Linked DNA regions of Homo sapiens: all the other regions are linked to region 2. The links are contacts of gene promoters, found by promoter capture Hi-C in human tissues and cell types (Jung and others, 2019). All regions are on one chromosome and are shown on one strand. Each heading gives the region's core, a stretch centred on a gene start or on the middle of the fragment in contact. The rest is flanking DNA. Distances are from core to core; before and after follow the strand shown.

Region 1 (7,713 bases), core at 1,191-3,690, 520 kb after region 2:
GAGCAAGTCTCCGTCTCAAAATAAATAAATAAATAAAATTTAAATTTAAATTAAAAAAAAAACTGAACTGTTCTTGCCTCCAAGATCAATTAGAAAACCCGGAAGGGTCTCACAGATATAATTACCACTTGGATTTTATTTACTTTCTTCAGCCATCCTCTATGTATCTTAAGTCCCTTAAAATAGGCCCCAAAACTGGCCTCAATTCTCCCCACAAGTGTAGAGTATCCAAAAAAGATCCCAGATGGACAAACTGTAGTAAAAAGAAATACTGAGCCAGACTAAGGCAGTAAGCTGGCCAGACAAAGCAAGGTATGTTAGACTACAGGTTTGCAGAGTAACCTGAATGTTCCAGGAACTCACAAAACCATAAGTCACAAATCTACAAAGCACAAGGGTTTCTTGTACATATTACCATTGAAATGCTCCTCCACTTTGCCTTCCAGAATGTAGTTTAGGTTTATATTGCATTTCCAATCCAAAAGTGTATTGTTAACACCTCAAGAAGCATATGGAAACCATTTCCCTGAGCTGTTCCTATATTAAAAATGTTTACTATAAGAGAAACAGATCTCTGAATCCAAACCTTAACAACTTATTAAAGCAGAAACTCTCAAACTTGATTTACTTACAAACAATAGTTTTTATTATTGAATTGTTTCCTTATATTTTCTCCATATTATCTGAAACCATTTCCTATTTCTAAAAGAATATTTATTCTTGCATTTGTATTACTGTTTCAAGTTTTCAACTATAATGTATTTGAAGTTCTAACAAACACCTACCCAATTCATCTTGTTGTTCAAAATAATTAAATTATATTAATAAGCCTCCCCAAAATGAAATCTAGTCATACAATGAATAGTATTAGATATTCATTAATTGTCCCATATCTAAAAGTTTCTCAAAAAGATTTTTGTTTTTTTTGAGACGGAGTCTTGCTCTGTCGCCAGGCTGGAGTGCAGTGGCGCGATCAGCTCACTGCAACCTCTGCCTCCCGGGTTCAAGCAATTCTCGTGCCTCAGCCTCCCGAGTAGCTGGGATTACAGGCATGCGCCACCACACCCAGCTAATTTTTGTATTTTTAATAGAAATGGAGTTTCACCATGTTGGCCAGGATGGTCTCGATCTCCTGACGTCATGATCCACCGGCCTTGGCCTCCCAAAGTGCTGGGATTACAGGCCTGAGCCACCACGCCAGGCCACAAAAAGATTTTTAAAACAAGACGAATACCCAAAAAAGGAGTAAGGGGGAGTAATTTGTATTTCTTTTTTTTCTTTTTTTTTTTTTGACAGAGTCTCGCTCTGTCACCCAGGCTGGAGTGCAGTGGCTTTATCTCAACTCATTATAACCTCCGCCTCCCGGGTTCAAGCAATTCTCTGTCTACGCCTCCCAAGTAGCTGGGATTATGGGCGCCCACCACCAAGCCTGGCTAATTTTTGTATTTTTAGTAGAGACAGGGTTTCACCACCTTGGCCAAGCCGGTCTCAAACTCCTGACCTTGTGATCTACCCGCCTAGGCCTCCAAAGTGCTGAGATTACAGGTGTAAGCCACTGCACCCAGTGGAGTTTGTTATTTAACAGATGCAATCCTTTTACATTATCTAAATCATCTTCTTAAAAATCACTTAAAAGAGAAATTAGAAAGTTAAAATTTTCATTTTAAAAGAATTAATCATTTTTAAGTTATACATTTAATTTTATAAGTCAAGATTTTATATATTTCTAAGATTATAGGTTTTAAATTTATAGAGGCAGATTTTGAGGATTCTACACTTTAATAAAGAATATATCCAACCTCTGCTAGAGTCACAACCATATGACAAATAAAAGCTCAAAATTTTTAACACAGTACTGTATGTCTTAGATTGCCTAGAGGTATAAGATTTTTATATTCAGTCTAACCATAAATAGAAGCCATCATCAATAATCTAGTCTGGGTAGGCCTCTGTTTTCCAATGATTATTTTAATCTTATGAAAGCTCTATTGTTTTTTAATTTTCCAAACATGTTTTGTGTGTGTTATACAGCTTTCTTGTCACTAGCTTCTCCAGCACTAGACATAGCATCAGACTGTTTAGTTATATTCCAAACTTTGTTTTTAATTTTTTAAATTATACTTTAAGTTCTGGGATACATGTGCAGAACGTGCAGGTTTGTTACATAAGTATACACATGCCATGGTGGTTTGCTGCACCCATCAACCTGTCATCTACATCAGGTATTTCTCCTAATGCTATCCCTCAACTAGCCCCCAACCCACCGACAGGCCCCAGTGTGTGATGTTTCCCTCCCTGTGTCCATGTGTTCTCATTATTCAACTCCCACTTATGAGTGAGACGTTTGTTTGAGATGGAGTCTCTGTTGCCCAAGCTGGAGTGCAGTGGCACGATCTTGGCTCACTTGCCCAAGCTGGAGTGCAGTGGCACGATCTTGGCTCACTGCAACCTCCGCCTCCCAGGTTCAAGTGATTCTCATGTCTCAGCCTCCCAAGTAGCTGGAATTACAGGCATGCGCCGCAAGCCCAGCTAATTTTTGTATTTTTAGTAGAAACGGGGGTTTCACCATGTTGGCCGGGCTGGTCTCGAACTCCTGACCTCAGGTGATCCACCCGCCTCAGCCTCCCAAAGTGCTGGGATTACAAGCATGAGCAACCGCGCCTGGCCTATATTCCAAACTCTGGTCACAACCTTCTGAACTGGGAGCTCTCAGTCCCTCATTATACACACTGCCCCTTTGATCTCATCCAGATCTCCAATCCTTTATATTTCCTTTTTCTCCTAATTACAGCTTACTCCTACTTACACTTCCTTTTATAATCAGGCCAGACTCCAAAGACCTACCATTTCAGCTACTACCATTTGCTAATTTATTTATTTGCCTATTTATTTACGTATACACATTCCTTGCCTTGTTCCAGAAGAGATTTCACTGAATCTTGAAAATTACATTCTTCACTTGGGCATCAAAATCCAGAATGTGAGAATTATCTTAGACCGCTTCTTCTTACCCTCACAGCCACAGAATCACCAAATCCTCTCAATTTACCATCTAAATCTGTCTCAAATCTTCCCTACTTTCTTCAATTCAACTCTAATGCTTTAATGTCTTCTTCATACTTAAGGTAAAACAAGGGACCAAAAGTATGGGTTCCAACCCAAATAGCCCATTAACTTCTGGCTGTTTGTGATAAGCTTTAAGACAATTAGCTTCACTATCTGATAGACAAAAACAGTCACTGGTATAGCAGACACAAAATCATAAACAAGAGAAAAGAAAGAATGTACTGAAGAAAAATGGCATTGATCTTCCAGAAAAAGAGGGCTACACCAGGATTATGTATTTTAAGTACATAAGTATATAACCCCTTTTATTTTTGAGCTTCAACATTATTGCAGAAAATAACATGTACACATAAACTTTTCACTTTACATATATAAGTAGTTTAACAGATATATCATACCACTAACAAATATTACATAACACTCTAAAAAGAGAACAATTAAGTCAGGCTTAACCGCATTAAAAAGTGATCATTAAAAGACAGTACTGTGTATAGCTAGCAAAATCAACTATTTTCCATGCTAGGCAATGACTCAAGAATTACAAACTGTCACCAATACCTGCATTAAACATAAACCCAGACAGTAAGCAATTGTCATGGAAAGATAAATCCATGTGACTATATCTCTGAAGCTTAAGCAAAACTAGTTTACATGAAGCAAAACAGTTTATTAAATAACCATATCTAAAGCAGCCCTTTGTTTTGACAATAAGTAATTTAATCATTTTTCCATCACTGTGGATCTAAAAGGTATGTTAAAATGTTATACTCCGCCAGGTGGATTAATATGGATTTATTAAATTATGCTTAGACTAACACTGCTTCCTGGTCATTGTAGTTCCAAATTAAAGATAATGATAGGTTTAGAGAAATAATTGTGCTCAATTATTACTCACCAAAAATTCTGAGTTTTCACTGCTTGATGACTTACACTAGAGTAGGAAGGCAGACGATACACACAGCACATTCATAAACTGGGATTTAACCGAGTGAAAATTGAACTGAAAGAACATTAAGGTCTCTAACCTTACTAAATTACAATGGAGTCCAATACATAAAATGCTTTAGTCAGGGAAAATTAGACAAGTCACTTAATCACTCTGTACCCTATTTTATTCATCTATAAAATAAAAATATGGACTAGATATTCTCTGAGATCTCTTCCAGCATAAAGAGCATATGATTCAAAGGAATTATTATATGTACCTATGCTGGAAAATAATAAACCACTCCACTTTAATTATTCATTTAAAATGATATAGGTTGTAGCTGCTGCATTTATTAAAAAGTCCTAACCAGCAATGCAGCAATGGCCATTTCATCTATAAATTAATTAAAGATAAATGATAAAGATAAGTGTGATCATTTTGAATCTCAGTAAGAAATTTCCATTAGCACCAATGAAAATTGTGTAAATTAACTCCCTACGCATGACTTTTTTCTTAACTTCCCTAATTTAGTTTAACTGGAGAAAAAGCCAGGTATGAATCTGCAGTGTTTCAATGCTGAAACAGCTTTAAAAGAAAAATATATTCTTTTATCTATTAAAATTAAGAAGTTGTACTAGATGATTTATAAGGTTCCTTTTGGCTTTAAAGTCCATACATGATAATAAGCTATCTCTGTACAACAACTGATAAACCAAACTGCAAACTGAGCTACAAGAAATTATGTTTTCTTTATTTTGTTTATATAAATTTACCACTGAGCTCAGTAAAAATTTCCGGCCAAGTGGTAGTCACAATTTAGTTTTTGGTTTAGCATATAGAAAAATTACTGACAAAATACCATAATGTAAGGGAAGGAAAAAAAAAGAATATCATAATCATTTTACCACACAATGTCTTTTTTTTTTTTTTTTTTTTGAGACAGAGTCTCGCTCTGTTGCCCAGAATGGAGTGCAGAGGTGTGATCTCTGCTCACTGCAGCCTCCGCCTCCCAAGTTCAAGCGATTCTCCTGCCTCAGCCTCCCGGGTAGCTGGAATTACAGGCATCCACCACCATGCCTGGCTAATTTTTGTATTTTTAGTAGAGATGACATTTAGTAGAGATGTCATTTAGTAGAGATGACATTAGTGGGCCAGGCTGGTCTCGAACTCCTAACCTCAGGTGATCCTCCCACCTCCACCTCCTAAATTGCTGGGATTACAGGTGTGAGCCACTGTGCCTGGCCACAGTGTCTTTACATACTTCCCATCATTCACTCTCCTGATAATCTATTTGAAACCACCTATAATCCATCATAAGATATTACAGAAAAGAATTCCCTAAAAATTTTTTCATGAAGCTGAGTCTTGCCCAGAAAGCAATAAATACATCAAATAATTCTTTAGGGTTTTTTCCTCCTGAGATTTTGGGATGAGATTTCTAAACAAAGAGAGATGATTATGGTGTCCCAAACTTCAAGTCACTGACTCAAATCAAAGCAGCAATTTGCTGTGTTAAAAGAGCAGATGATTGATGTAATAGGAAAAGAAGGAAGAAACTTGAAGAAAAATAGAATCAGTAAAACATGGGAAAAAGAAAAAATGAATATCTGATTTTTTAATGTTGCAATGTATAAAGCACTAGAATTAGAACGTACCAGTTCACAGATCTAGATAGTTTGATCCCACTTACAGCCGGGACATTAATTTATATATGCTAAAAACTGTCAAACCACACAAAATAGGTTAAATAACTAAATAACACATTTAAACAAAACCATTATTTACAAAACAAGATATAAGAAAGGGAAAGCAGCTCATAACACATTTAATTAGTGTTACACTTGATAAGGAAAGAAACCTAATTACTAGGGCAAAAGATAAGATCATTCTGTAACTATGAATATGTTTGGCACATAGTCTTACCCAAATATTTGTTGAATAAAAGCAGCAGTGAAGACTGTAAAAGGAAAACATAACCCTAAAAAGAAACATGCAATAAAGGAAATATAACCTAAACAAAGAGAGCTGCTTTGCAACTTTTTGAAAATATCTAAATTTAATAAGCATCAACATAAATTTTTCAGTGCTGTCATAGTTTAAGCTACTACCTTAGTGCTAAGGATTGAAAAATAAACAATTTGAAAACCTGAAAATTAGATAATCCCAAACTTTAAAAGTCACTTTCTTCTCCTCAATTATTAAGGGCTCTCAGGTAAATTATAGTTTTCACTTAGAGAACACTGTTCAAAGAGTTCCTACTTGAAGGTTACCCTGAAATGTTTGTCTTAGTTAAAACTCAAATGTATTGTGGTATTGTGATTTAAGGGCCAAGTGAATATCAAATGATTGGTGACCCCAGATGACTATCTGAACTTGACTATTCCTAGAATCTGGTATGTGGATAACCTTCTACAACAGGGAACCCTTCCAACCCTAACTTAACTCAGTCTGTGGGCAAAAAAAAGTACCACAAGCCAGTACACGTTGCTTCACACTCTAAATTAAATAAATAGATCATGACACACAATCCATGCCCAAAAACAAAGAAGTAAACACATTACATATTAATACATTTTCCAAAGGAGTTATTCATAAGCGTCTAGCAAGAAAAAAAGTACAATGGCCAAAAGAGTTGAGAAAAATTCATTTTCTTGCACCCAAAATGTGCAAAATCTTTGGTTTTCTTTGTGATATTTTGGAGACTTTGCTAAAGCTGCTGTTGAATGAGAACACCTAGGCTACCATCATGAAAATCAATAATGCACCTGGTAAGAACACAAAAGACTGACTCACCTGTGTGGAATCCATTAGCCTTTGAATAAGCCCAAGTCTGGTACCAGAGGGCACAATGTACTTTCTACCAGACAAGAGGAGAACGATTTTTCCTTGTCCTGCTTTCCAGCTGCCCAAAGAATAGATCTCATAGTAATTGTAATATGACTCTTTTACAGAAATAAGAGGTGGATAAAGTGCTTACAAACAATAGCTATTTCATACAATTGTATTTCTAAATTTTCTTTCAGACTTTTATTGCTCAGAAAGTTAAATAATGTTAAATGAAAACTTTAACCTGTGTGTTTGCTTAAAGCACAAACATTAAGAAAAAAAATGCTTTATGTCTGTATTCTTACAATCATATTGGAGACTTGCTGCTAAACACAAATATGAAAGGCAGTGAGGTGTTAATTGTAACCCCAGTGAGTTAAAACTAATAGAGCCTTTATGAAATCCTGCATGTTACGCAAGTGTGGTGGGGGAAAGGCACTTTTGTACACTGTTGCAGGGAATTAACCAGTGCACTTTAAAAAAAAATTAGAAAGAGCTATCAAAATTTCATATTTCTAAATTTCCATCAACAGAAGCAATATCCATATAAAGAAATATTACCTGCTAAAAAGGAGGTAAAGCATATGCTGATACTCAAAATCTACCACTAACTGAAAAAAAAAGGTAAAGGTATAGTATGATTCCATTTCTGCAAATTTCAAATAATATGACCATATCATTTCATTAATGCATAAGTTTATATTGTCCACTTGGAATAGATATATTTAATTGTACCAAAACTGTTTGCAACTTTAATCTTTCACATTTCAGTTTCTCTCACTTCATATTCTCCCTACCCAAGCTGGCTTGAATTTTCTACTACTTAAATAAATTCTAATCAGAAGACCTACTTCCATATTATACTATGCTCTCTGGGCAGAACAGAACTTTAA
Region 2 (6,899 bases), core at 466-2,965:
TCAAAAAAAAAAAAATCTACAAAAGTTGTGAAAACTGAATTCCTTCCTAGAGACGAGTTTTGTGGACTAGTGATTCAATGAAACGGGTGGGTGGAACTCAACCATAATGATACAAAGAACTATTTATTCTTTTATTGAAAAAAAGGGTGACTGGAGACTGGATCACACTGTGGGAACTTGCTGAGAATTTTGGAACTTCCTCTCTTTGGGTATGATAAGAAGTGAGGGAATTGAAATTCAAGTCACTTGAATTTCCCTCAGTCTTCTATAATACCTGGTTTCCAACTTGCATTCATTTAACAAACTGGAATCAATGTTCCATTATTAAATCAATATTACTTTTTAATTTTAATGTGACTTGTAGAATGCAATTTGATACTTGATTACACCCTATGATTCATAGCTATTATTGGCTATTTTGATTGTTTCTTACTCCTAATATGTCCCCTATCAAACTGCAAATGCCTTGAGGTCAAAGGTCCTTTTTTGTCTAATTAGCATAGGACTGAACACTTGGAAGATGCTAACAACATTCCTCTGTTAAATTTAATAAGGATTTTAACTTTCCAAGTTCAATGGGTTTTGAATGACTCCTGAATATAATATATTATGCTAGGTGTAGTGTAATAGAGAAAACATTTGTATTACTTGCATTTTACAAGCTGGAGGAGAAGCAAGAACACAATACCTAGGGAAGATTTAGATTTAGTAAGAAATCAGAACGTCCCAATACCCCCTTGTATATGTTTTACCAACCTAGATTTAAAAAAAAAAAAAAAAAAGCCAGAATCCCAGGCAACATAGGGAGCTAATTTGAGTTCTTTTTATAATAAATCCTATAAATCCTTGTAGTTTACTTCCTTAGGCCAGACACTCCAGATGTTTTTGTGGATAGCAGCTAGGTCTCCTGGGACCTTGGATTGGGCCTTTCTCTAGTCAGGCAAATAATCTGAAAAGAAAACGAAATCACATGTAGTCCAGCACATTTTTTCCTTTCTTGGTTTCTCCACACCAGCTAAGAGTTATTTAAAGGCTCTGAACCTCTCCAGCCTTTGATTCTTTTTAAGGATGATTTTATTTTTAGAGAACTTTCCACATTTCCTAGTTATACAGCCAGACTGGGTGATCTGGCCAGAAAATCATTTTCCCTTAAAAAAAAAAAAAAAAAAAAAAAAAAAAAAAGCTAAAATTTGAACGCAGGCGTTGAATTCGAAACAGATTTATCATAACGTAATTCCCTGGACACTCCCAACTTGAGACTGAAAGCTGGGCGAAAGCGGTTTGTGAAGCTAACCTAAAAGACAAAATGGTCTAGAGCCACCTTTTCCCCGCAAATAACAGAGGATTAAGGATCTGAAATCTTCAAGCCTCCAGGACCACGGTGCAAGCCCTCAGCAAAAATTTCTGCTGGAGGCCGGAGCGCCTTTTGATTTCGGGAGACTGGCCCAGGAACTCTAGTCACTTGGAAGGCGGAAGAGAAGGTGGTACCTGAGCCAGGTAGGAGCCACTCAGAGGCAGCCCGGGGCCGCCACTCACCTAGGAGAGGAGGTGGAGTCCGATGACCTGGACTGAGAGGAAACGCGAGACTGAGTCTACCAGGTGAGGTAAAAAACACCCACCTGCTCACCTCGGAAGGGGCGGGCGAGGTGCGGCTCCCGGTGACCCGCGGGGGTGCAGCGCACCTGGGCGGAGGCGGAACTGGGAGGGTGTGGGCACTGCTCGTAGGGCCTGGAACTAAACTCACCTGTGACGGAGGCAGAGGAGGGGCCCGGGCAAAAACCCACCTGAGCTGGCGGGAAACCCGACCCGCGAGCAGTCCCCGGGCTTGCGCGGCGCGGAGAGGGAGGCGCCCCGCGGCGGGGCCCCCACTCGGTCAGCCCGCGCGTCGGTCCCCGCGCGGCCGCCATGACCTGGAGCGCCACGGCCCGGGGCGCCCACCAGCCCGACAACACCGCCTTCACTCAGCAGCGCCTCCCCGCCTGGCAGCCGCTGCTGTCGGCCAGCATCGCGCTGCCGCTCTTCTTCTGCGCGGGCCTGGCCTTCATCGGCCTGGGCCTGGGCCTCTACTACTCCTCCAACGGCATCAAGGAGCTGGAGTACGACTATACAGGCGACCCGGGCACCGGTAACTGCTCGGTGTGCGCCGCGGCTGGCCAGGGCCGGGCGCTGCCGCCCCCCTGCTCGTGCGCCTGGTACTTCTCGCTGCCCGAGCTCTTCCAGGGCCCAGTGTACCTCTACTACGAGCTGACCAACTTCTACCAGAACAACCGGCGCTACGGCGTGTCCCGCGACGACGCGCAGCTGAGCGGACTCCCCAGCGCGCTGCGCCACCCTGTCAACGAGTGCGCCCCCTACCAGCGCAGCGCGGCCGGCCTGCCCATCGCGCCCTGCGGCGCCATCGCCAACAGCCTCTTCAACGACTCCTTCTCGCTTTGGCACCAGCGCCAGCCCGGCGGGCCCTACGTCGAGGTGCCGCTCGACCGCTCCGGCATCGCCTGGTGGACCGACTACCACGTCAAGTTCCGCAACCCGCCGCTGGTCAACGGCAGCCTGGCGTTGGCCTTCCAGGGCACGGCGCCCCCGCCCAACTGGCGCCGGCCAGTCTACGAGCTCAGCCCCGACCCCAACAACACCGGCTTCATCAATCAGGACTTCGTGGTGTGGATGCGCACGGCGGCGCTGCCCACGTTCCGCAAACTGTACGCGCGCATCCGCCAGGGCAACTACTCGGCCGGGCTGCCGCGGGGCGCCTACCGCGTCAACATCACCTACAACTACCCGGTGCGCGCGTTCGGCGGCCACAAGCTCCTCATCTTCAGCAGCATCTCGTGGATGGGTGGCAAGAACCCCTTCCTGGGCATCGCCTACCTGGTCGTCGGCTCCCTCTGCATCCTCACCGGCTTTGTCATGCTGGTCGTCTACATTCGCTACCAGGACCAGGACGACGACGACGAGGAGTGATTCCGGCTTTCCAGGGATCCCTCCTGCTTCTTGCCAAAACTCTTGCAAGGTGCTTTTGGCATCTCCTCCTCGCCCGTCACCCAATTCCAACCTCGCCTAGCTTTTCCTCCCTTTGTGAATGAGGGGACCAGATAAGGGAATTACCCCCCTTGCTCTTGGGGGGCTGCTAGACTGTCTTGCCGCGGGGAGGGATGTTGACTGCAGAGTGAAACATCCTTGCAAACTCTTCCCACCTCCTTCACGACACTGAGTTGCCATGTGAGGTTCTTCAAGTCTGAGAGTGGAAGGGATCCCTATGGAGACTCCTATTAAACCCCTATTAGAGGAAGAGATTGAGAGACCTAGCAATGTGAAGTAACAAAGATCAGGCAGCTGCAAGTGACTCCTGAATCTTGAGTCCAGGGCTTTCGCCACTACAGTACAGTGGTTTTCTTTTCTTTGGTCGGGGAGAGTGGGCTGGAATGGAGAGTGAGGCCCACAAATTACCTGCAGAGACGTGGAGGCGTGAGGGAGAACATGCTTGTTAAATATGCAGGTAGATTAGGAGACACCAAACAGAGATTCAGACACAGTAAGGCTGGGATGAGATCCTCGAAGCTGTGTTTTAACAAACTCCACTGGAGAGTCCCATATTCCCTCAAATTTGGGAATCACGACCCTGAACCAGGTTGGGCCTGAAGCAGTCAACTGAATTCACTTTTTCGGATAGTAATTTGTTCCCAGGGGCAGTGACAACCATGATGTTCCAGGTTTGGTCTGGCACTCTGCCTTGAACGTAGGAAGCTCTTGATGATTTGTGGAATGAATTTTTAAAAAATTACTATCTGGGGAAAACTAGTTGGCATACAGAGTTGTAGGACAGGGTTTATGTGATTCATTTGATATTTTAGTATTTTGGTGTAAAAGCCAACAGGCAAACTTTGCCAGGTACTGTGTAGAAACTCGAAAATGTGAGGCCAGTTTGTACAGTTCAGAGGAAATGCTTTAACGTAGAATCAGATAGCTGGAAGAGATCTTCGAGGGAAAGTAAGTTCCCTAAAGTCACATCTATGTCTCCTAGCTCAGTGTTCTTTGTCATTGTGTGTGTGTGTGTGTGTGTGTGTGTGTGTGTGTGTGATTAGAAAGGGCTTCATTCATACCTTTTCCCTTGGACCTGGAAAAAAAATTTTTTTTATCTTTTCAAATGAAATCTATTGATTTCTAGTAATCATATTTGAATCAATGTTAAAGCATATATAGTCTTATATGTAAACTAGATTCTTAAGATTATTTGAACCTTTGAGATGAAGTTTACACTCAACTAAAATCATTCCATTGATTTTATTGATTAACATCAATCAGTATGTTTAAAGTTATTCTAAGAAGCAATAGTTTATTTTTAAAAACCTTGTATAGCAAAATAACTTAAAACCCTTTGTGATATCATCTTACCAGTTTATTTGGTAAAAACAAACAGTTATTTGGTATTTGTCAGAATTCTTCAGTGCCTGCTATTACAGCTATTTTCCAATTACTAACTTGATTATACTCACTCAAGGCAGTGCAAGATCTTGAAGTACTTTTTAGCAGTTAAGTAATATTGAATTGTATTGAATAGTTTACATAGTTTATTCTAGTCTTTGAAAATTACTGAACATGGACAATGTGCATGTCATTGACATCTGCCTTAGAACTTCTGGGACAATCCTGATTCGAGAGATTCTATCCCATTATTTACATATACCAAAAATACTTTGTTAATTTAATGTGTTGGCTTCCCAACTCCTGAACACGACACAATTTTATTATTAGATTTTGTATGGTGATTTTAGGCTATGAAAACATGATCATTATATGTATATAGATACATTTTTATTTGTTACAAATGTTTGAGCAGCTCACTAGCCCACCCCTCCTCTATTTTGGGTAAGAGAATTTACTACCTTTTTTAACTATGTAGTTGAGAGCAACATGTATTTTGTTATTTTTAGAATGGTCAGTATATTGCTATAAAATTTTAAATGAGACTATGAAAGTTAAAGTATTCTGATTCTGGTTAAATTAACGAATATGGTTCCAGGCCCTGTTCTCTGGGTTTTTGAGAGAGAATAAAGGTTATGTTTGTCTTACCTTTGTTATCGAGTTTGCTGAATTCTTTTGAACGATGATCTTAAAGGCACAAACACCACCAGCCACTTTGCTAATTTCTTAATAGCAGATTTACATTGCAGCAAGAAAACCATCTTTTATAGTAACATTCAGTTAAAATGAACTCAATTCATTGTTAACTTCCTAAAACAGAATTTGAACTTTATCAACCTCAACGTGTATATAAACTAGATAGTCCTCAATACTTTATCAACCTCAACATGTATATAAACTAGATAGTCCTCAAATACTGTTTGAATTTAATAAATGTCAATTTAAAAATTTTTGTAGTAGTCTTCTGCATTTTACTTCAATTATAAATTGCAATTATTTATTGGATATTTTGGACTTCAAAGCAGCAGAAACTTTAAAACTGAAATGGGAAACGTTTTCCTGCAATGATCCCTGTGCTGTAACATTTTGTCTGGTGTCTCAGGCTTCCAGGTTCTTGTTGGCCTGAATTCCCTTGTTGCCCAGTAAATGTTCACTAGCTAGAAGTATCTTCAGGAAGTGAGATAGAAAAGAGTGAACCTCAACAATTGGACTGGAAATGAGCTTTGACCTAACTTTGTAAAATAAAAGCATAAAAGAGAAAGTAAAGTAGTTGGTGAGAGCTCCTAAAACAATAATATGTCACTGTATTTTCTCAGATGGTTAAAAAAAATTAAAACAATAATATGACAAAGATTTTCCAGGTATCTCCACAATCAAATCAACTAACCAATTTGCTCACTATAAAATTATTGTTATTATTATTTTTTTTGAGACAGAGTCTCACTGTGTTGCCCAGGCCGGAGTGCTGTGATGTGAACTTGGCTCACTGCAACCTCGGCTCACTGCAACCTCCGCTTCCTGGGTTCAAGAGATTCTCGTGTCTCAGCCTCCCAAGTAGCTGAGATTACAGGTGCACACCACCACGCCCAGCTAATTTTTATATACTTTTAGTAGAGATGGGGTTTCACCAAGTTGGTCAGGCTGGTCTTGACCTTCTGACCTCAAATGATCTGCCCGCCTTGGCCTCCCAAAGTGCTGGGATTACAGGTGTGAGCCACCAAACCCGGCCTATGTAATTATTAAGATTCAGAGACAGACTAATAGTCTGGAATTTCCTTTAGAGCAAATATCACTTCATAATATATAATCAAAACCCTTTCTACCTTACTTTAAGTCTGTTGCCGTCTTCCTGTCATAGGAGATCTCAACAATCTTGAGTAACTCTCTAAGTTGCTGGTAGAGCTGCAAGGTCATCAACTAGTTCCTTGGATATAAGAAGTCCAAGGGCATACACGTAATCAAAAAGTAAATTCCCGGCCAGGTGCGGTGGCTCATGCCTGTAATCCCAGCACTTTGGGAGGCCGAGGTGGATGGATCATTTGAGGTCAGGAGTTCGAGACCAGCCTGGCCAACATGGTGAAACCCCGCCTCTAATAAAAATACAAAAATCAGCCAGGTGTGGTGGTGGGCGCCTGTAGTGACAGCTACTCAGGAGGGTGAGGCAGGAGAATTGCTTGAACCTGGGAGGCAGAGGTTGCAGTAAGCCGAGATCATGCCACTGCACTTCAGCCTGGGTGACAGAGTGAGACTCTGTCTTAAAAACAAAAAGAAAAAAAAAAAAAGTCCCTCTTCTGTTATTTTTATTGGACATTTCTTTGTGTTCCAGATTTTTTCTCTCTACCTAAAACAGAGCTGGCTGATTTTAGATGGCATTCTTTTTAAAAAAATTAACTTTAATTTTTTTTTCCCCAGGAAAATGTCTCTTAAGTCTCCTCCAACCAAAACAGAGTAGTTGCAAAAGAGTCGTTAAGAAGGTC
Region 3 (6,917 bases), core at 1,584-4,083, 570 kb after region 2:
ACACTCTAGTTTTGCAAGTATATGCATACAAGAGACTTTAGATTGATCTGCATGAAGATCACAGTTAAGTATACAGGAGTAGAACTGCATTATTGCAGCCTTTTTGTTCACTTATAAATTTCTCTTTTAAATAGATGGAGACAAAGGACAAGGTGAAATGTATCAAGTCAAAGTGAATCATTTAGTTGACTCTATAATTCTAAGGTCAAAATGGAACTTGATAGTTTTTTAAATTAAAAAATGTATACACCTAACATAGAAAATTAAAGATAGCTGCAGACCATTAGAAATAATACAATTGTTTTTGTTTACTTTTACTCCATGGGCATTGAAAAGGTTAAGAAACATAAATGGTACATATTTTTAAAGTTAAGTAGCATGCATATATATATGCACACACACCTCTTTTTCAGCATTTTTTGAGAAAGTCTTGGGTCTCAAACACATTTGTCTCAACACATTTCCAAATGTGATTTCTAATAGCTCAGTGTGGCTGAGAAAGTGCGGAACTCCACTAAAAACTCTGAAACTTCAGTATAAATGTAAATATATCAGTTCTATAAGCAGGATTTGAGTAATTACAGTGAATTTTATTTTTAATGTATATGTTTCTCTTCAGGCGCTATGAACTGAAAAATATGTTTTCTTACTGTTTAATTTATTTTTATTGTTTGAACAGGAAGTGAACATAGTCGTTTCCAACAAAGTTTTACTTTTTGTAGGATTTTAAAAATAATGATTTTTACCAGGAATCTATTAAGGTCAATATTAATAACACTGAAACAGGAAATCTAACTCCCAATATTGGAATTTTGGTACTTTTTTTCACATCCTTGTTCTTTATTTAGCAACTCTGATTCATTTAAATATGTTTTTTATAGAATTCTATGTGCCTTTTTACCTCGTGGCCTTTTTATTGGTAGTAAGGTACAGAAGTGTCAACAGAAGCACTGATGGTTCTTTTCTACTATCTAACAGGGTTAATTTCACCACAAAATTGCTTTAAATCTGAAGAACTTAAGTTTCACTAAATAATATATATGACATTTATCACACAAATGGATAAACAACTAATTATTGTTGATACTTTTCATTACAAGGAAAATAAGTTATAAATACCATGTCAAATTGATTATACAGGCTATGAAAACCATTTTAAAGGAAAGAAAATATGTAAATTCTATTGAGCAAAATTCTGTCCTGTTGAAACTTAGTTCTAAAGGTTTTGAATCAGTTGTTACACTCTGACACATGACTGTTGTTTGCACTATATTATCATGTCTTCTTTAAAAGTAAATATTTTTGGTTTCTGTAAGAAGCTTGTTTAATAATGTTGTAAGCCGTGGCTATAGTTTTATCAAGACTCTGAACACAAGATGTAACAATGCAAATAAATTTATGTAGTGAGTAAAGTTGCTCTCTAGTCTCTGAAAAGCAAAAAAAGTGAGAAAATAATTTCTTCAGAGATAACTTCAAGTTGTTGAACATAAAGGTGTTAGATGTTAGCACATCTTGCTTTTTTTTTTTTTTTGAGATGGAGTCTCGCTCTGTTGCCCAGGCTGGAGTGCAGTGGCACGATCTTGGCTCACTGCAAGCTCTGCCTCCTGGGTTCACGCCATTCTCCTGCCTCAGCCTCCCGAGTAGCTGGGACTACAGGCACCTGCCACCATGCCCGGCTAAATTTTTGTATTTTTAGTAGAGACGGGGTTTCACCGTGTTAGCCAGGATGGTCTTGATCTCCTGACCTCGTGATCTGCCCGCCTCGGCCTCCCAAAGTGCTGGGATTATAGGCATGAGCCACTGTGCCTGGCCACATCTTGCTTTTTTTTTTATGATCAGAACAAAGGGCCCACTCTAGTTCTCTACATGTCAATCAATCAAGCATGTTGAATAAGGGACATAGAGGATTTAACTTTTGTTATCATAAATGGAACTTGCAGGCATATATCAAGAACCCTATGAAGAATTCCTCTCCCATCATTTTGATAAAGAACTACATCATTTTTGATAGAATTGGTGAATGTTCCTAAACTGCTGAAGCTACATGTTTTTTGTTTTGTTTTACAAAGTCAGGTGTTTGAGAGTTCTTTTCCACTCTACTACTACTCATAGAGCTTGTTTTTTCTTTGGGTGTGTGCTGATCCTGTTACTGAGATTAATTACATGGCTCTGCAGTGTAGTTTACATAAAAATGATGTTTTCCACTTGATTGCTGCAGATATCAAGAGTTTGTTATTTTCAAATACCCATCCAACAAGAGAGATGGGGAGGTTTTTAGTTATATATGCTATATATATATATATAACTGGAAATGTTTTATATGTTTTCCGAAAATACAATAAGCCTCTCTTTTATTCAGTGTTCTTCCTCTTTTCTCCCTTATGAAAAAGAAAAGATAGCACAAAACTTAAGACTTACCTAGGAAACCCATTCATATTCCCACCATGATGTAATTATAACCCTACAATTACTTCAGGTAGCTACACAATATACCAGGTAAGAATCAATGCACAGTATAAAGAACTTATTGTTCTTTTCTATTCTTTCAGTTGAATAAGGGCCAGTTGGTATGCAGCCCATGTATATGTGAATGGAGTAAGATAAACCCCATGATCTCCTTGCACAGAATTGCAAATGTCTTTTGCCATACCAAGGGCCAGACTCAGAACCCTTGGAGTCATGTGGCAGAATTTCCCTCTTACATAAACCAATGCTTGAAAATGCTGCAAATGACCCTCTAATGATCCCTGAAGATCAAAACAGGGGTAAATGACTCCCTGCAAAACCCAACCCATGCTGCTGGCTGTGGGATTTTTGGTGTAAGCCTATCTATGCACTCTATCAGCCAGAATTTGGCATTTAGCTCTTAGTTAAATCTAGTAAAGGACAGTCTATTGTTTAAAGAGAAGGTGCATTTGTTCCTCAATCAAGCAAGAGCACCTGTGTTGTACTGCTTTATATCTCATGTATATTTATAGTAATGAAAAGACTTTTTAAATTGTACACGTTTCAGTGCCTTTCTTGTGTTATGAAAGGCAGGTAGATATTATAGCCATAGGTAAAAATCCATAGTTAAATTGCACACTGACCTTAAATCTCTCTGTGTATGCCCTTGTATCTTGCATGTTAAAAGTTGGATTATTGGGCATGTGTGGCAGCCTGCCCTGCTACATGCTAGACAAGTGTGCTTTAGTACATAGCCACAAGTTCTTCATTCTTTAAAATGTTTTGACAGATCATCTCATAATAAAAATAATTCAGGAAAACTATGGGGAAATAGTTACATTTCACAAAAGATATTTTAAACTCTTTGTAAAACTTAGATAATAGAGCCTAGCAGTTACTTTGTATCTAATTGATACATTTTATGTTAATTTACCACCATACATTTTATTAATCAAAATTGTATAGCATGTGACTCTTTTGGCTTTCAGAGTTCTCAAAAATATTATTTTGTTGCATGTACTGTATGTTTAGAGGCAACCAATTATATACTCAATATGGTTTTACTGTGCCTTACACAAAGAGAAACTCTATACAGAATGTATATCATGGGGTGGGGTAACAGAGTCTTTACTGCACTGTTAGGTGATGGCACACAGAGCATGTCCCAGAACATTTCTGTGCTTAATTACCCAACCAAAGAGATCTGAAGTATGTATGTCGTACTGTAATGGGGGTTTATGCCTGGACAATTAAGTGTTTTATTTGTTTTCTGAAATGATGTGAACTTATTTTTCTAAACACTATGCTAAATAAACTTTATATTTATACATACCTTGCATTGAAAATTATTTGGGAAATATTGTGTTTTTTTAAATATGAATGACTCATCTTACTAGAAAAGAAAAAAGAAATAATGTTGGTTTTATTTATCTCTGGAAAAGGGAAGAAGAGGAAGGGAAAAAACAAACATTCCAAAAGCTGGCAAATGGTTATAAGGCCAATTGGAGTGATTTTGGAAAAATAATCTTTGTCAGTCGTTGTGCAGAATTATGCAATTAACTGTACTACATAGAGGTAAATTATTAGATTGCATCCTCCTTAAAAGGAAGAAGTGTACCTTCCCCTTCCCAGCATTTTTTGTTTTTTGTTTTTTGTTTTTTTGTCCCTAGAGATGAGTGTGATGTTTGGCACACGGCAGTTACTCTGTAGGGTTTAATGGAATTAAATTGAAGGGTCCAAAGACCTCCTATTTTCAACCTTATTGAAAGAGTTCAATATCACCCATCCCTAGGGCACTGCCATTAGCCAAAGTCTGGTACCACCACGGTTGGGTGCACCAATAGTTTCACTGAAAGTAACAAGTAGAACTGCGTTGCTGCTAACTATATAGAAAATTTGGCCTTCGTACAGTTTGGTCCTAATTTTAAAATTACATAACCTGGTTTTCTATGCTTCTACACTGAAAAGAAGGGGAGGTTAATAAAATAGATTGGAAACCAACTGTACAATTCTGTAAAACTAGTTAAAGCCATCAAATTAAATTCAGATATTATATCTAGACTTTTATATTCTTGATATTCCACTCATTTATTTAACAATTTTATATGTAAGTAAACCAGTTAACATGAACAGAGTTTCAATGAGTTCAACCACTCCAGCCAATGAAGTGGTTACATTTTAGAACATTAAACAAATATTTTTAAAAATTGGACAAGATCATTGCTGTACGTAAAACATTTGTGGCTCCTCAGAAACTAGCAAATTAAATAAAAACCCTCAATGGGAATTCAAGGCCTTCAGCTATATGGTTCCACCCCACTTGTTCACTTGCCCTTAAGAAACAATAAATGGGCCAAGCACAGTGACTTAGGCCTGTAATCTCAGCACTTTGGGAGGAAGAGGCAGAAGGAGGCGGAAGGATCACTTGAGCCCAGGAAGCTCCAGTGAGCTAGGGTGGTGCAACTGTACTGCAACCTGGGTGACAGCAAATTCCTGTATCAAAAAAAAAAAAAGCAATAAATGAAAATTTACCTTTGCATATCACCATTTCCAATACAGTAGATAGTAAATAAATAAACAAGACACATTCAGATAACGGTCAGTGTTATAAAGTTGACAACAAGGAGTAATGAAATTGATAATATGAAATGTTAGGGTGGGAGACATACATTAGATTGATCAAGGAAGTTCTCTAAGGAAGTAACATTTCAGCAGAGGTAATTGAATAAGGAGGAAGCCAGCCAGCAAGACCTAGAAAAGAGCATTCCAGACATAGGGAACAGCAGGTACAAAGGCCCTGAGGGAGGGACAGAGTGTCTGGATTACGGCGCTAACTCCAGGGGTCATGCGATAAATCTAGCCAGAGAGGTAGGCAAGGGCAGATCAAAGGTAGAGCTTTATTGGTCTCAAATAGTTTGAATTTGAGTCTGAGAAGCCACTCATGGCTTGTAAGCAAGGAGTAATATAACATGATTTACACTTTAAAATGTTGCCATGGCTAATCTGGGAAATGGAGTTGCAGGAGGCAGGAGAGCCGGAACTAGGAAACTATTACCATGTTGCCCTGAGCTGTCAGACAGGAGATACTTCAGGAGCTCTTGAACTGCACCTAGGGCAGTTTGCCCTCCAACTGTCTCCAGAATTTTGTGCTCTCCAAGACTTGTGTCTATTCTGCTGCCTGCTGTTAGCCAAAGCCACTTACTGCTACTGAAGATGATTGTCACAGCCTGAACCTGTCCCCTGGTAGATCCAGCTCCCTAATAGATATTTTCAAAATGTCCCAGTCCACCTAAGATTCTACATGTGGAAAATTAAACTCTCATCTCCCTAAGCCTGCCCCAACTCTGTGTTGTTCATTTCAGCAACATGTATTCACCCAGATGGCCAGACAAAAATCTGGGATTCACTCTGGAGTCTTGTCTCCCTTTCTTCTCCCTACCTTTATCAGATCACAAGTCTATCCAAGTCTGCTCTTTTACAGTCTTTTGATTCAGTTTCTTCTTCTCCATTACTAAGGTTACTCCTACAGTTTAGGCACTTACCATTTCTCTACTGAATTATTGCAACTGCTTCCTACCTGGTATCCTAGTGTCTGGTCCTGATTTTGGCCACATTACAACTACATCCAAATGGAACTTCCAGAATTCAAGACTTAACCCAGCCTCGTTTTCCACTTTAAAACCTTCCATGGCTCTTCATTGCCTATGAAATACCGTTTAAACCCTTTACCATAAGAAGTCTCCAAGATCCAGGCCCTGCCTCTCTGCCTACTCACATCTCTAGCCACATAAAACTGTTCGCCAAAGGAACCAGATTCCTTCATAACGACCCAATCCCCAAGACTCACTCAATGTCACATCTTCAGGAAGCCTTGTCTTACTTTCACAAGTAGAATTGTGCATAGCCCATTCTGTGATTAGACAGGGATTTATACCTTCCTTTAGTGTGGCACTAATGTACTTATCACTGTAAGTATATGTTTGCCTCTTTACATATTCATCTTGGTTTCTCCAGCATTTAGTATTATGCATGGGACATAGGAGGCACTTAAAATTTATTTGTTGAATGAATAGTGATGGTAACAGGCATCCATAACTTTAAATCATTTCATTGCTATGGATTAGGGAACTATATTGCTAAACTGGTTAAAATATTATCCCTATGTAGAGCACAAAAATAAATCAATACATTTTGGGGTAGACCCTGAGAGTGGTTCCTCAAATCTTTTAACATTAGTGAATGGTCTTTATGGTAATTATTTCATTACTATTCCAAGGTTTTTCTGCTTAACATGCAAGTTTAAAACTGTGTTCCAGATGATAGAGGCTAAAGATTGACAGGCAAATGGGGCATTAACAAAAATGTACTCACTGAGCTTTTTTTTTTTTTTTTTGACCCTTTTTTAGATCAATGTTTCAAAATACCAGTGATGTGCAGAAAACCTATTTATACTTATGTATAGATAAACTTTC
Region 4 (7,627 bases), core at 2,605-5,104, 860 kb before region 2:
CACTTTTAGTTCTTTAAGGAATCTCCACACCGTTTTCCATAGTGGCTGTACTAGTTTACATTCCCACCAGCAGTGTAGAAGTGTTCCCTATTCACCACATCCATGCCAGCATCTACTGTTTTTTGATTTTTTGATTATGACCATTCTCGCAGAAGTAAGGTGGTATCACATTGTGGTTTTGATTTGCATTTCTCTCATCGTTAGTGATGTTGAGCATTATTTTCATATGCTTGTTGGCCATATGTATATCTTCTTTTGAGAATTGTCTATTCATGTTCTTAGCCCACTTTTTGATGGGATTGTTTGTTTTTTTTTCTTACTAATTTGAGTTCGTTGTAGATTCTGGATATTAGTCTTTTGTCAGATGTATAGATTGTGAAGATTTTCTCCCACTCTGTGGGTTATTCCTGTTATTCCTGGGTTATTCTGACTGTTCCTTTTGCTGTGCAAAAGCTCTTTAGTTTAATTAGGCCCTGGCTATTTATCTTGGTTTTTATTGCATTTGCTTTTGGGTTCTTGGTCATGAAATCCTTGCCGAAGCCAATGTCTACAAGGGTTTTTCCAATGTTATCTTGTAGAATTTTTGTAGTTTCAGGTCTTCGGTTTAAGTCCTTAATCTATCTTGAGTTGATTTTTGTATAAGGTGAGAGATGAGGATCCAGTTTCATTCTCCTATGTGTGGCTAGTCAACTATCCCAGAACCATTTGTTGAAAAGGGTTCCCTTTCCCCACTTTATGCTTTTGTTTGCTTTGTCGAAGATCAGTTGGCTGTAAGCACTGGATTTATTTCTGGGTTCTCTATTCTGTTCCATTGGTCTATGTGCCTATTTTTATACCAGTACCATGCTGTTTTGATGATTATGGCCTTATGGTATAGTTTGAAATCAGGTAGTGTGATGCCTCCAGATTTGTTCTTTTTGCTTAGTCTTGCTTTGGCTATGTGAGCTCTTTTTTGGTTCCATATGAATTTTAGAATTGTTTTTTTCTAATTCTGTGAAGAATGATGATGGCATTCTGACAGGGACTGCATTGAATTTGTAGACTGCTTTAGCAGTATGGTCATTTTCACAATATTGATTCTACCCATCCATGAGCATGAGATGTGTTTCCATTTGTTTGTGTCATCTATGGTTTCTTTCAGTAGTGTTTTGTAGTTTTCCTTGCAGAGGTCTTTTGACTCCTTTGTTAGGTATAGTCCTAAGTACTTTTTTTACAACTATTGTAAAACGGGTTGAGTTCTTGATTTGGTCTCTGCTTGGTTGCTGTTGGTGTATAGAGGAGCTAGTGATTTGTGTACATTGATCTTGTATCTGGAAACTTTGCTGAATTCTTTTATCAGTTCTAGGAGCTTTCTAGAGGAGTCCTTAGAGTTTTCAAGGTAAACAATCATATTGTCAGCAAACAGTGATAGTTTGACTTCCTCTTTACCAATTTGGATGCCCTTTATTTCTTTCTCTTGTCTGATTGCTCTGGCTAGGAGTTCCAGTACTATGTTGAAGAGGAGTGGTGAGAGTGGGCATCCTTGTCTCGTTCAGCTCTCAGAGGGAATGCTTTCAACTTTTCTCCATGCAGTATTATGTTGGCTGTGGTTTTTAATAGATGGTTTTTATTACCTTAAGATATGTCCCTTGTATGCCGATTTTGCTGAGAGTTTTAATCATCAAGCAACACTGGATTTTGTCAAATGCTTTTTCTGCATCTATTGAGATGATAATGTGATTTTTGCTTTTGATTCTGTTTATGTGGTATATCACATTTATTGACTTGCATATGTTAAACCATCCCTGCATTCCTGGTATGAAATCCACTCGATCATGGTGGATGATCTTTTTGATATTATCTTGTTGGGTTTGGTTAGCTAGTATTTTGTTAAGGATTTTAGCATCTACATTCATCAAGGATATCGGTCTGTAGTTTTATTTTTTGGTTGTGTCCTTTCCTGGTTTGGGTATTAGGGTGGCTTCATAGAATGAATTAGGGAGGGTTTCTTCTTTCTCTATCTTGTGGAATAGTGTCAAAAGGATTGGTACCAATTCTTCTTTGAATGTCTGGTAGAATTCTGCTGTGAATCCATCTGGTCCTGGACTTTTTTGTGTTGGTAATTTTTAAATTACCATTTCAATCTCACTGCTTGTTATTGGTCTGTTCGTGGTATCTCATTCTTCCTGAATTAAGCTAGGAAGGTTGTATTTTTCCAAGAATTTATCCATCTCTTCTAGATATTCTAGTTTATGTGCATAAAGGTGTTCATGGTAGCCTTGAATGATCTTTTGTATTTCAATGGGGTCAGTTGTAATATCTCCCCTTTTGTTTCTTAGTGAGATTATTTGCAGGTACCATTGCTTTCATCATGTTCTTTGTTGCCTGTGTACACTGATTTTTTTTGTTTTTTTTTTAACTTGTATTTTTGTTTTATAGGTCCTGTGTGATTTTTGCTTTAAAGAGGTTCTGTTTGATGTGTTTCCAGGATTTGTTTCAAGATTTAGAGCTCCTTTTAGAAGTCCTTGTAGTGGTGGCTTGGTAATTTGTCAACTTTTCCTCAAACACAGTGAGCCTTTAATCTGTATGCTGAGAAGTATTTTCTTCAGTGATTTCTTTTAGTATCTCTTCTGTGACAATTGTTTATCCTTCATAAATCTTTACACTTTAAACATTTTTCTCCACTGCATGGCCTCTGTAAATATTCTTTTTCATGATATTTAAAACTCTAATTAATTTTTGCCTCTGCATTATGGAAGAAGTCATTAAATTTGCTTTCATATTGCTACTCTCTGTTACTGATTTTATATTAACCTTCTGCTGTTTCTGATGTTGATTTTAATTCTGTTTTGTATTTTTAATTGCTGTGTAATCTTTTTTCATTGCATTCAGCTTCAGCTTCACCTTGAAATAGTGGCTTTTGAGCTCATCTGGTCATCTTTTCTCTGTAACTTTTTCGCTTTTTATAGCTTTTCATTCCTATTTTATAGATGCCATATCGTCACATATGTTACTGTGGACACTAACTTTTTCTAAACTTTTTTCTGACACCAGGAATTCATCATTTGAAGAGACTGTCATTCCTCTGAATTTTAACAATTATGTAATATCTCTTGTATTCCAACATAATTTTACATGTTGAGCAACATCCCAGCTGTTGTTGAAGTCTGTTATTATTTTTCAGTTTACTCCTCGTGGAAAGAGAAAAGATCTATCTAGTCCCAATGTTTGCCAACACACAGGGGTTATGGCTTAGCTCTAACACAGCTTACTACAATTGGAGGGTATAATGATATATTAGCATCTAACTTGATTTCCAGGGTTTAGAGATATTCTGCTATTATGGCTCTGCTGGATTTCAGTGAAATCATTAATCCTATTCCTGCTATTTGACTATCTGATTTGGTGAACCATTGGAGTATTCGGGCTGTTCTTCTTTTTGCTCCCACCCACAGGATTTTTATATATTGGTACTCTATCTCCAGTAATACAAAGTAAAACTGTTTGCCACCTCCCCACCCAAATGCTGATATCTTGTCCTGTTGTTTTCTGGAAGTTTCAGTATCCAAACGAATGTTGAAAAAGAGGTACTAATGAGGAAGGAGAAAATAAGGGTTGGGACGTGGAGACAGTACTCAGATAGGACTATAAAGACCCCAATCAGAAGGCAAGCAAAGGAATAAGAAAGGGATGATGATGGGTTAGTTAAGTTTCAGGTGGCAAAATAGATGTCAACATCACTTCAGCTCCATTTGTCTTAGAAAATAGAAAATTATCCCAGAAACTGGCAATAGATAAGGTGCAGCTTAGGTTTAAAGCTATTTTGAGTTTGTGTGTAGTGAGGGGAACAGTGGTTCATAGGGAGACAGTGTGTGCCTTTACAGTGGACATCATAGTAGAAAGTAGGGGGTCAGTCAAGGGATTATTGACATGTATATTTCAACCCAGAAGTTTCTACCCTACACTGTAGACCTGCAAAAATCTGCTAGGAAATTGTTGAAATTGCCCACTACCTAAAAACTCTTAAAGTTGGCAATTGCTTCGTATGCCTGAAGGGAAAATACAGATAAATTCAACCTCCACTGGAATCAGGTGGAAGAGGATAAAGATTTAGTAGTTTAAATGCACTATTAATTTATGTTGAAGTCACTGAAAATATTCATATCTTATAAGTAATATTAATTACTGCTAGCAGAGTGTTCCTATTCCATTTGGGCTTGCAAATGTCAGCAGAAACCCAAGTCTGCCACAAATCAACATAATAAGATAATATTTCTGAAATATTACCAGATGTATTTTCATTTTCTAAAATTCTTGTTTCATACATGGAAGCTGAGGCATCCAGCACTTCAGAGGAAGGAAAGATACAGCCAAGAACAACAAAGAAATTGTCCAACGTTGACTTTCAAAACAAACTTTCTAAAAGAGCATAAGTAGAAACAATAGTCTTTAGTTGCCAGAGCCAGGCATTGGAGAGAAAGGAGTTCTCTTAATCAAACAGTGTCTCTCTAAATATCCAGAATTATCTCTGGCTAATGCTTTTCTCCTTTTGCCTAAACTAGTTGTGTTTCGGTCACATGTAGTAAGAAGAATCCTTATCAATATATTGCTTTTTTAATGTGCTAAACTGTAGCTTCAATGTACAATACTCAGTGAACTGAGCTCTGGGTTCAAAATTAAGAACCCCAAATTTTATATTTACTTATCACTGCCTTTCGATGTAAGGTTGAGCAATCCATCAGTTTGCTGTTTTCAGTTTAATGGATTTCACCTAAAACTCCATCTTTTCTTTGAAGCCTTTCCTGGCTATGGATAAAAGCAGTCTGTCTCAGTACTAATTCTTCCATCTATTAATATGATCTCTTGCAATATACTTGAAATTAGCATATAATATCCCTACCTCTTTTACTAATTTGATTTTAGCATAATATTTCTTTTATTTACTTGTTTGAAGATTTGCTCTGAGTAAATAACAATGCAAGACTAAAATAATAACAGCTGTTGTGTTGCTCCATGATGGTGCCTACAGAGGTTAGAAATTGGATCTTTTTATCGTCCTGAAAGCACCTTCTTCAGCACCACATGCATTTGTCATTGTGCTCCATTTTAGCGTCTCCATTTATTTAACACGTCTTCTACTTGGTAGTTTCATTTAGTTATTAACTGTTCATTCGCAATATAAATTCTCTTTTATTGCCAGTGAATAGGAAGTGTGTGTTTTGTTCCATGGACTTACTTTCATTATCATCCTAGTAAGTAAGTATGAGTTTACCTGAGTTTTACTATGTGTGAAGTGCCCTGTAAAGGGAATTTCACAGACAGGTCTATATCTATTCATTTATTCATTCAAGAAACATTTATTTAGTTCATGAGGATAAAGAGAAAAACAAAAGACACTCATTCTCCTGGGGACGTCACAGAGTAGAGGAGGGGACAGACAAAACCAGTTATGGCAACAAAGAATAACAGGGCTGTGAAACATGACTAGAATAATATTGAAGCTTAACTCCTTTATTCTCTAGAATTTGTTAATGATTATGTTATAAGGCTACTGAAACAACTGCTGAACATGTTATCATAATTACTGAAAAATGTTCAGAACTGGGGAGGAGTTGAGATTTCCGGCTTCTACCCCAGATTTCCATCTTGAATCACATAACCTCTTGGGTTCTGTTCTCTCTATAAAAGGAGAATGCTACGTGAGATGGCCTCCAACATTCTCTCTGGCTATCACATGCTACAAATCTGTAATTCTAAAGGCTACAGAAGAAACTTCTCTACAACTAGTTCAAACTGCAACCTCTCAATAACACATAGCTTTGAAGTTCTGGTTCACTGCCATCTTATCTAGCTATGTTTAATCTCCCCTCAAGATGAACTATCTGCGTGGGAATTAAAAATTGGACACATTATTGGTAACTATACCACATTCCTGTGAATCAGACCAATAGCCATCTGGCCCTTGAGTGTGTTTGAAAACACTGCCAAGCTTAGGGAACAGCCCTTACTCAGGCGTCTGGCAAGTATTGAGTCAGACTCCTCTCTGTGATTGGAGTTCTTTGTTGGAAAAACTGTTTGTGCTTGGGAAGGCTGTATTGCCTGTGTTGTGGGCATCACTTAGCTAATAGGAACATGGCCTGGAAAATAAACAGTGAGAATGTCCTGGCAATGCTTTCCTTTATGCCCCCCGCGTCAGTCACTCTCAGTTCATTTGTGGTGTGTATGTGTATATACGTTAGGTTTCCTTAGCATGTTCTTGGCAGGAAAAAAAAGAAATACCTCCTCTTATTTTGAAGTCTCCACCATCTAATTAATACATACACATTGGCTTAGAACAGAGCATCTTTTATAAAGAATAAATACCTCAAGCTTTGAGAAGTCTCATGAGAAGCATCAGAATTACTTGTCTGGAACCATTTTATACCAAGCTATTTTTGAATGAATGAGGAACCTAGAATAACTGGAAAACTAAAGGTTTCTCATTATTTCTAAGTCAGTAACAGAAATTTTCTTAATCAGATTAATGGATTGACATTTTAATCTTGCATTGTTATTTATTTTACTCAGCTAAAATTTTTTGAGTTTGATCCTTAACTTGGGCATAGTATTAAATGCTGTACATGAGATAATTGGTGCTTCTCTTAGTAAACCTAAGACTTAGGTGAAATTGTTTCCCCTGTTTTAGAGACGAGAAAACCAAAGTTTAATGCTTTTTCCATTTAGAAAAAAAAATGCAGCTCGCTACCAGCACTCATTTAATTTTACATAAACACATTCTTTGAGGCTAAAGCCAATCCGACTGATTTTCAATGTGAAAATAAAATATAAAAACTGTTCTTGGGGTTACTTCTAAACAGAACTAACATCAGAATCATCCGTTTCAGAAAAATCAAATTCATCAAATGAATCATTGGCCAACAACTGCTCGTTGTAGGAATGCTACGTTTTCTAGGATTTGACATTTTCAGCGATGGAGAATTATTACATTTTTGTAAACGAAAATACCACTACTAAAAACAGAATGCTATCAATAGAATGGTGTCTCTTGTTTCCAAAGTTGATATAGTAGAGCGATGTGAAAATAATAATAAAAGCGAGATATTTTGTGGCAAAGTTATCTTGGAGTAAACGCTGCAGCCACCGGCAAGTCGTCTCAAGGAAAACAGGAAAAGGGTTAAAGAAGCTTAGACAGGAACTTTCCCAAAGTCCTACAGGTATAGGTAGTGGTATTAAGGCTTGAAGCTGGGTCCATCTTACTCAAAAACCATTTTCCTAAGCACAACAATACACTGTCTCACAGTGAAGGCTCAGCAGTCAGGCTACAGGAGTTCTAATTTTGGCTCTACCACCGACCAGCTGGACAGCGCTGGACTAGTTTCTTAAATTCTTTGTACCTCAGTTTTCTTCACTATAAATTTGAAAATAATAAAATGTAACTTTTATGGTTGGTGAGAAGTCAATTAAACACTTACAAAACCTCACATATAGTAAATGCTGAACAAATGGTAGCTATTTTAATTTTTGTTCATTCAGCATAGCACTGGCTGAATGAATTAAAGACAAATTATCAGGAAAGATCAAGATAATATGTGGCCTCCATATCCAAGGGCCATATAGTCTAGGGGAGAGGAGAGGTATGTAATGAAAT

Evidence for each region. The method cuts DNA at HindIII sites, captures the fragments that hold promoters and counts their contacts. A contact is called where the count stands out against the background at its distance.
Region 1: a fragment that was not itself captured here is called in contact with the fragment with the promoter of TMEM30B in region 2 in 2 of the 25 tissues and cell types used here (lymphoblastoid cells and stomach).
Region 3: a fragment that was not itself captured here is called in contact with the fragment with the promoter of TMEM30B in region 2 in 3 of the 25 tissues and cell types used here (lymphoblastoid cells, mesendoderm cells and thymus).
Region 4: a fragment that was not itself captured here is called in contact with the fragment with the promoter of TMEM30B in region 2 in 1 of the 25 tissues and cell types used here (lymphoblastoid cells).

The regions. Positions count from the first base shown.
Region 1 is chr14:60,759,923-60,767,635 of GRCh38, reverse strand. The region is part of intron 1 of MNAT1 (MNAT1 component of CDK activating kinase); the gene reads right to left. Among named protein-coding and RNA genes, the nearest start is that of MNAT1, 29 kb to the right of the region's middle. The HindIII fragment of the contact is 7,906 bases long and covers 1-6,393 here.
Region 2 is chr14:61,276,154-61,283,052 of GRCh38, reverse strand. TMEM30B (transmembrane protein 30B) reads left to right here and starts at 1,715. Exons shown (of 1, transcript NM_001017970.3): 1 at 1,715-5,683. The coding sequence starts at 1,906. The coding sequence ends at 2,961. It also overlaps a transcript of PRKCH not described here. RefSeq lists an enhancer at 2,290-3,253. The HindIII fragment of the contact is 14,970 bases long and covers 1-6,899 here.
Region 3 is chr14:60,706,399-60,713,315 of GRCh38, reverse strand. SIX4 (SIX homeobox 4) reads left to right here. Exons shown (of 3, transcript NM_017420.5): 3 at 1-3,777. Among named protein-coding and RNA genes, the nearest start is that of SIX4, 14 kb to the left of the region's middle. The HindIII fragment of the contact is 6,478 bases long and covers 1-6,072 here.
Region 4 is chr14:62,141,772-62,149,398 of GRCh38, reverse strand. No RefSeq gene overlaps it. Among named protein-coding and RNA genes, the nearest start is that of LINC00644, 5.6 kb to the right of the region's middle. The HindIII fragment of the contact is 4,608 bases long and covers 1,551-6,158 here.